Linked DNA regions of Homo sapiens: region 1 is linked to region 2. Evidence: promoter capture Hi-C in human tissues and cell types (Jung and others, 2019). All regions are on one chromosome and are shown on one strand. The core of a region is centred on a gene start or on the middle of the fragment in contact, and the rest is flanking DNA. Distances in the headings are between cores, read along the strand shown.

What was found. The method cuts DNA at HindIII sites, captures the fragments that hold promoters and counts their contacts. A contact is called where the count stands out against the background at its distance.
Region 1: a contact is called between a fragment that was not itself captured here and the fragment with the promoter of PDE8B in region 2, in 2 of the 25 tissues and cell types used here (IMR-90 fibroblasts and hippocampus).

The regions. Positions count from the first base shown.
Region 1 is chr5:77,341,845-77,345,432 of GRCh38, reverse strand. PDE8B (phosphodiesterase 8B) reads right to left here. Exons shown (of 22, transcript NM_003719.5): 7 at 502-580. Among named protein-coding and RNA genes, the nearest start is that of PDE8B, 130 kb to the right of the region's middle. The HindIII fragment of the contact is 7,622 bases long and covers 1-3,588 here.
Region 2 is chr5:77,208,391-77,212,257 of GRCh38, reverse strand. It overlaps PDE8B (phosphodiesterase 8B), which reads right to left and starts at 1,578. Exons shown (of 22, transcript NM_003719.5): 1 at 994-1,578. The coding sequence starts at 1,332. The HindIII fragment of the contact is 4,534 bases long and covers 1-3,571 here.

The DNA of each region.
Region 1 (3,588 bases), core at 871-3,370, 130 kb before region 2:
ATCCCAGCACTTTGGGAGGCCAAGGCAGGTGGATCACTTGAGGTCAGGAGTTTGAGACCAGCCTGGCCAACATGGTAAAACCCAATCTCTACTAAAAATATAAAAATTAGCTGAGTGTGGTGGCACATGCCTGTAATCCTCGCTACTTAGAGGCACAAGAATCACTTGAACCTGAGAGGCAGAAATTATACTGAGCCAAGATTACCTCTGTACTACAGCCTGGGCGACAGAGTGACAATCTGTCTCAAAAAAATAAAATTTTTTTAAACCCCATTTCTGTCAAAGAAATTGCAGGTTCTGATCTGAAGTAATAATTTTTTGTTCTTTATTGAATATCTAATTCTTAAGTCTATCAGTATTCTTTGCACAGCTTGATATTTATTTCTCCTAAGAAAATGTGCTGATACATGAGGATGATGGGAAAGTACTTGATAAAAAGTGTGGCTTAAACCTGAAAGGTTCATTTTGAATGTTAATGATAGAGGTGGTTTCTTTCCATACCTGAATCACGTGGTCATCGCTTGTTATTTCTATGGCTTCATGACAGTGATCTAATGCTGTAAACACTGAATTACAGGCCCTGAAAGTTATAAAAGATTGAAGTTAGTTCTTCTATGAAAACCATTCACATTTCATCTGTTAATTTAACAAAGTAAACAGATACCAGGTTCATCAAATCTACGTACTTTTTGTTATTGCCATGGTCTGAATGCTGATGTCTCCCAACAGTTCATATGTTGGAATCTAACATCCAATGTGATAGTATGAAGAGGCAGGGCCTTTGGGAAGTGGCTAAGTCAGTGGGGCTTCATCCTCATGAATGGGATTAATGCCTTTATTAAAGAGGCTCCAGTGAGCTCCCTTGCACTTTCTGCCATGTGAGGACATAGAGAGGGTGCCATCTATGAGGAACAGGCCCTCACCAGACACAGAACCTGCTGGCACCTTGATCTTGGACTTCTCAGCCTCCAGAACTGTCAGCAATACATTTCTGTTGCTTATAAATTACTCAATTTAAGATACAGTAATGCAACTCATAACGATATTTCAACAATGGACTCAATATACAATGGTGGTCCTGCGAGATTATAACCTAATTCCTATTGCCTAGTGGTGTCGTAGCAGACATAACACCCTCACGTGTCCGTGATGATGTTGGTGTAAACAAGCCCACTAAACTATCAGCTGTATAAATGTGTAGCAATACAGTAATGATGTACAGTATATAACATTTGATAAGATATAACTAGGATACTGGTTTATGTATTTGCTATACTATTTATCATTGTTTTAGATAAAATATTCCTTCTACTACTAAGAAAAGTTAACTGTAAAGCAGCCTCAGGCAGGTCCTTCAGGAGGTATCCCAGAAGAAGGCATTGTTATCATAGAAGGTGACAGCTCCATGTGTGTTATTGCCCCTGAGGACCTTCCAGTGGGACAAGATGTGGAGGGGGAAGTCAGTGATATTGATGATCCTGACTCTGTGTAGGCACCAGCCAAAGTTTGTCTTAGTTTTTAACAAAAAAGTTGAAAAAGTAAAAAAAAAAAAAAAAAAAGATTTAAAAATAGAAAAAAGCTAACAGAATAATGTTATAAAGAAACATTTTTTTTGTACAGCTGTGAAATGTGTTTGTGTTTTAAGCTAAATGTTATTAAGAAAGTGAAAAAGTTTAAAAATATAAAGGTTTATAAAGTTAAAAAGTAGCAGTAAGCTAAGGCTAATTTACTATTGAAGAAAGGAAAATGTTTTAATGAATTTTGTGTAGCCTAAGAGTACAAAGCTGATAAAGTCTATAGTCCTATACACATAATGCCCTGGGCCTTCATGTTCCCTCTCCATTCACTCACCAGCTCACCCAGAGCAACTCCCAGTCCTGCAAGCTCCATTCATGCTAAGTGCCTTATACAAGTGCACCATTTTAACTCTTTTTATACTGCATTTTTACTGTGCCTTTCTATGTTTAAATTCACAAATGCCATTGTGTTAAAAGTATTTACAGTATTCAGTACAGTAACATGCTCTACAGGTTTGTAGCCTAGGAGCAACAGGCTGTACCACGTAGCCTAAGTGTGTAGTAAGCTATACCACGTAGGCTTGTGTAAGTACACTCTATGATGTTTGCACAATGACAAAATCATCCAACGACACATTTCTCAGAACATATCCCCATCATTAAATGATGCATGACTGTATTTCATTATTGCAATCCTAACAGACTAAGAGGGTTAATAATATGCTTTGAGGGAAAAAAACTAATCTTTCAAACTAAATGCATAAACAATAGCATATATATCTGTGTGTATGATACAAAAAGAATTGTAATTCAGTGAAATCTTCGTGGATCATGGAATGGACTATGTGTGTGCTGAATGAAACTTCAACACTAACACGAGGCAATGACGTTCTTCTGTTTCATTCACAGTTGTGGTCATGGAGAAGTTAAGTCTCCAACAATTAGAGAACTTAACTGGGCCCAAATTGGATGTGAGGTATTCTGGCCTTTTGCAACAGACACAAAAACATTTTTTCTCCTTTTTTGCTGTTGTGATGTTACTCGGCTTCCAACCATTCCCCCTGGCATGGTGAAAGGCAAACCCAGCAGAACTCCCCTTGCTGGTTCATTGCACCTCTGCAGCTCTCCAGTGGGGACTTTTCTTGGTGACCTTCCCTATATTTCTGGAATATTTGGAATCAAACTCTCATTTTGTTTATCATAGTTTTAACTAATTTCCTAATCTAGAGCAACTCCAAATACAGTAAGCTATTTACTGTCCAACACAGCAAGCATGTAGCTAGAGCTCTGTTATTTATACTGACTGTTTAAAGAATCCCAATAAAAAGCTTTCTTACACATTACAAAATAAAAAAAAACTGTTGATTTACTGGATTGATGTTTTTTCTTTAAAAAAAAAAACTCTGAAAAATGTTATTTTTTTCCACTCATAAAGGCATTCTAACTTTGTCTTCCTATTTTGATCCGTTTAGAGGGAAGAAGGCAGAAAGAACTGGGTGAAATCTGGCTCTGTATTTTTCCAGTTATGCGACCTGAGGCAACTTTTTGTCTTCAATGGCCCTCAGTTTCCTCATCCATAAAATGAGGATAATAATACGTATTTCACAGGTTTTTGTAAAGATCAAAACAGATAGTTTATGTGAGGCATTTCTCGAAGTGCTTGGGACAATATGAGAATACAACACATGTAGATACCTGTTGTTATGTTTAAGATCACAGAGTAATACTTCTTTGTTCTCTAAGGCTTTCAAAAGGCTTTGGTGAAAAAAATGAATCGTAACCTATCTTTTCTCATAAGTATACCTGAAATGTCAAACCAAGAACTGTATTCAATAATAGTGAGGTATGCGTGCGGAGTGCAATATTTTAGCCAACTGCAAGACGCCATTCCTATAGTTGCAGAAATGAAGATATCAGTGTGAGAAGGTAAGTGTAACAAGTAATCATGATACGGGTTAGAAGAGCAGAGGAGAATATTAACCTAACTCAACTGAAATGGCTTACAGGCGCAGTAGTATATTTTCTTATTTAAATTGCTCCAGTCTACCTAATTTGAACTGTATACTGTCTT
Region 2 (3,867 bases), core at 329-2,828:
TCTATCTGACATTAGGAGTATTTTTTTCTCTCTGTACAATAGGATATGCCATTGTTATCTTGTTTGCTGAAAGGAAAAAAGACCCAGTGCCCAGATTTACACAATGAAAAGCCTCTTGGATTTAACGGTACTTTGAGAACATACGGGAGGACACTATTTAAATAATTATTTTTCTTCTGTCTTTAAGAAATAAATATTTAGCGACTGCTTTAACCATCTAAACAATTTTTTCCACTTCCTCAAAATCCCACTCTCTGGGAAGATCAGTTGTATGTGCAGAATCATCCTCAGACAGCTGTACTGCACTGGAAACCACGTCCCCTCACGGTGGCTCTGCTGACACTCCGAACTCATGGCCCGGTTCTCTCAATTCTGTCTAGGATGCAGCCAACCCAGAGAAACGTTACAGTGACAAACAACAGGTTCCACTCTGCTCCGTTCCCACATCTCTTAAAACACGAACACTCATTCATTCACAAATCCCTACGCTCGGTTCCTGTGCTGAGACTCCAGCCTGGCTGGTAATCCCAGGTAAAAATCGGAATATGGGGCACTATCTATCCTGGTGCTGCAACTGCACCAGTCACCTACAAGGCACGCAAATCCAGCTCAGTGCTCAGATTTCATTCAACAGGACTGGCCACCGAATGCTCTCAATGGTCCCCACCCCTCTTCCTGCATAAACCAAGCCACAGCCTTCCTGCCCTCAAGGAGGAACAGGCCAGCCCACCTGCTTCCTTCTGCGCTCCCTTCCCCGCCCAGTCCCCCAGGACCAGCTAAGGACGCTTCCAGGACCCCTCCAGGGGCCTTTTTCTGACCACATTTCCTGGGCTCCCATCATCTCCACAAATGAAAAGTAAACTCCTCCTTAGTGACAACCTCTCCAAACCAACCGCCTCACGGTCACCCAACTCCGCCGGAGCCCCCTACCCGTGCGAGCCCCGCCGACGGGGCGGACGGCCCCCACGGCGTGTGCCAGCGCGGGGCATTTACCTTCACGCTGGTGTAGCAGGTCTGAGTCTCGGCCTCGGCGCTGCTGCAGCAGTGGCGCCTCCGGCCCCTGCTGGTGGTCGCGGCGGGGGCTGCGGAACCCGCGCTGCTACCGCTGCCCAGCTCGGTGCGGGCCCTGCGGACGCGGGCTACGCTGGGGGGTCCCGACGCGCGGCTCGGGGGGATGGCGTCGGCGGCGTCGGTCTGGACGAAGAGGCCGGGCAGGGGTGCCGCCGGGCCCTGCGACACGCTGGTGGTCTGGCGGGGCGAGCTGGACTCGTCCGAGTCCCGGCAGTAGATCACGCCGCTCTGCGAGACATGGATGCTGGGGGCGCAGCCCATCCCTCGGCCGGGCTCCCCCGCGCGCCCGCCCGCGCCCGCGGCCGCCGGGACCCAGCGCACCCGCTGCCACCTGCAGTGAGGGGGCGGCCGCGGCGGCGCCCGGACTGCGCGCCCCCCGGCCTGTGTGTCCGCCGCTCCGTCGGGCTGGCCGCGGTGCCCCCCGCCGAGCCTCCGGGGACCGCGCGCGTCACCCCAACTTTCCCTTTTGGGCCATCTTCCTCCCCGAGCGGGGGAGCGCGCATACACAGCGCCCCGCGCGCACCAGCGGCCGCCACCCTCCCCGCCGCGGCGCCCCAAACACGCTCCCCGCGCCTCCGCCTTCCCCTCCTCCCTCGGCGCGGCCCCCGCCGCCGCCCAGCTCGACCTCGCCGGGCTCCCGCACCCGCGGCCCTGGGCCAGGGCGCCCGCCCGCCTGCCCGCCTGCCTGCACCTTCTTTCCCCACTTTCGGTCTGCGCCCGTCCCCTCCCTCCCTCGCTCCCACCCTCCTTCCTCCTCAGGTGCCCCGGCTCCGCGGCCGCAGCCGCCCGGGCCCCACTGCGCCCCTCCGCCCCTCCCGCCGCTCCCGGAGCTCTCCCGACAGGGCAGAGCGTGCCCGCGGCTCGGCTCCGCCGCGGGGCCCCTGTGCGCGGCAGCTGGCACCGCGCCTCGGCGCCCTCCCCTCCTCCTCCGCTGTCCAGAGGCCTCGTCTCTTCTGCACTCATCCCGACGCCGCCCCCAGCGCCCCAGCCCCTCTTCCCCTGAAGGGCTGTGTAAGCCTCTCGCTTTTCACCAACACATTTTCACACATCCCAGAGCTAAACACCAGGAGGCCCCTCCCGAAATGGCAGGGGCCCTACAGCCCAGGCCCACCCACCGCATTTGCTTGCCTCTCAACACACCCGGGAAGTGATGGAGAGACCTCATGGTTCCGTCCTCTTCCCCCAGCCCCACCGCCTACTCCGAAGGCTGAGTTGGATGGTGACCCAGTCTTCAGAAGAAGCCCATTCCATGTCTACTCATCGTTTGGAAGTTTGTGCCAAGGGATGGGAGGCCCTGCGGAGGAAGGCACCCTTGAACACATACGTTCCCCTAAGATCCAAGGCAAGAACAGAAAGAAGCTGTCTGATGGTTCTTGGCTTTCTCCCCCATTTTCACCTCTTCCTTAGGTGTCACTAAATGTTCATGCTGGTTTCTATCCCGTCCAGCCGCCCATGTCAACTGCTGTTCCTCACACTCTGGGCTGGGCAGTCAACAAGGCCTTCCCTCATTCTCCTTGGTGAGGCATGCACAGACTGAGCTGTGCTGGAGGAGAGGAAGAATGCCTTTAGAAGGATGGCTGCTGTTCATCCTTCCCTTGTAAACTCTGAGTTACAGCTGCGAGACACCACTGCCCATTCAGTCACTGGTTCCCGCAGTAATTCCTGCCCGATTTTCACAATGGCACGGGGAGATAAATTAGATGGTCTAAGAAAGGATTTTATCTAGAGTTGCTTATACGGACAAGGGCAGTAACATAGAGGCTTAATGCAAGGCACAAAGAAGTATCCAATTTTAAGGTTTGTTTTTTGTTTTTTTTTCATTCTTATTTTCCTTTTTCTTCCTGGACCACTCTTGGATGTGACTGGATGAAGACTTCAAAAGACAGTTTCTAAATTTCATAGAGAAGCAAGATATCATTCCCAATCCCAAATTCAGTTATACAGGGAGAGTCTAACCTTATTCTTCTACCTTTGCTTCTCTTCTCAGTTTAGCTCTCTTTTTTTGATACAAAAAAACTCCATCTCCAGCTAACCTGGAAAAAGTCTATGCTGTATTTTTTAATGGACAGGCAAATTGCTCATAAAATTTCTGCACAGGTTGGGTCCTCCTAGAAGCAGATTCTGAGATGGTGTTTAGCAGGCAGAGGGAGGCTTTTTAGGAAGTGCTCTTGTAGTCAACATTTGTGGGAGGAAATAAAGGGAGGGAATGGAGGGAGGCAAGCTTGAGCAGAGGGAGAAATTGACCAAGCCTCAGGCATCCCTGCAGGGAGGATTCTGAAGGTGGGATGATGCTTCAGAGTTGTTCTGAGTTGGGGCTGGGTTCTGAGTTGTTCTGGTGGGCCTTTATACCCCAGCATGGACCAGTCTTTACATGCAGGCCACCTCAGCGACCTTGGGCAAGGTGGCTCTCTTCAGCTGAGGCACTGCCCCTAGGAGATGTCAGCTGAGCCAAGGGCTTTCTGCTGGCAGCACTCCCAGTAGCTGGAGGAGTAAGTCCTTTCCTGGCATCATAGCCTCCACCCACAGTTCCCTTCCAGGCTGCTGAGATCCATGTTTCCTTGTCCCATCCATGCCTGTAAGAACACCACATTAAATGGCTGAGACTGAGATATGGGGACAGTCATTCATTTAAAACTAAGCCTCATAGCAACCATCTGCTCTACTTCCAAAGGACAATTTAGGACCTGGGAAAACAACATCAGAGTTAAATTGCAAAAACACTAGTCTCTATACTAGTCCCTGATGTAACGTTCAAGTCAGGGTTTAATGATTCCTAAAGCTTACCTGTGATAATGC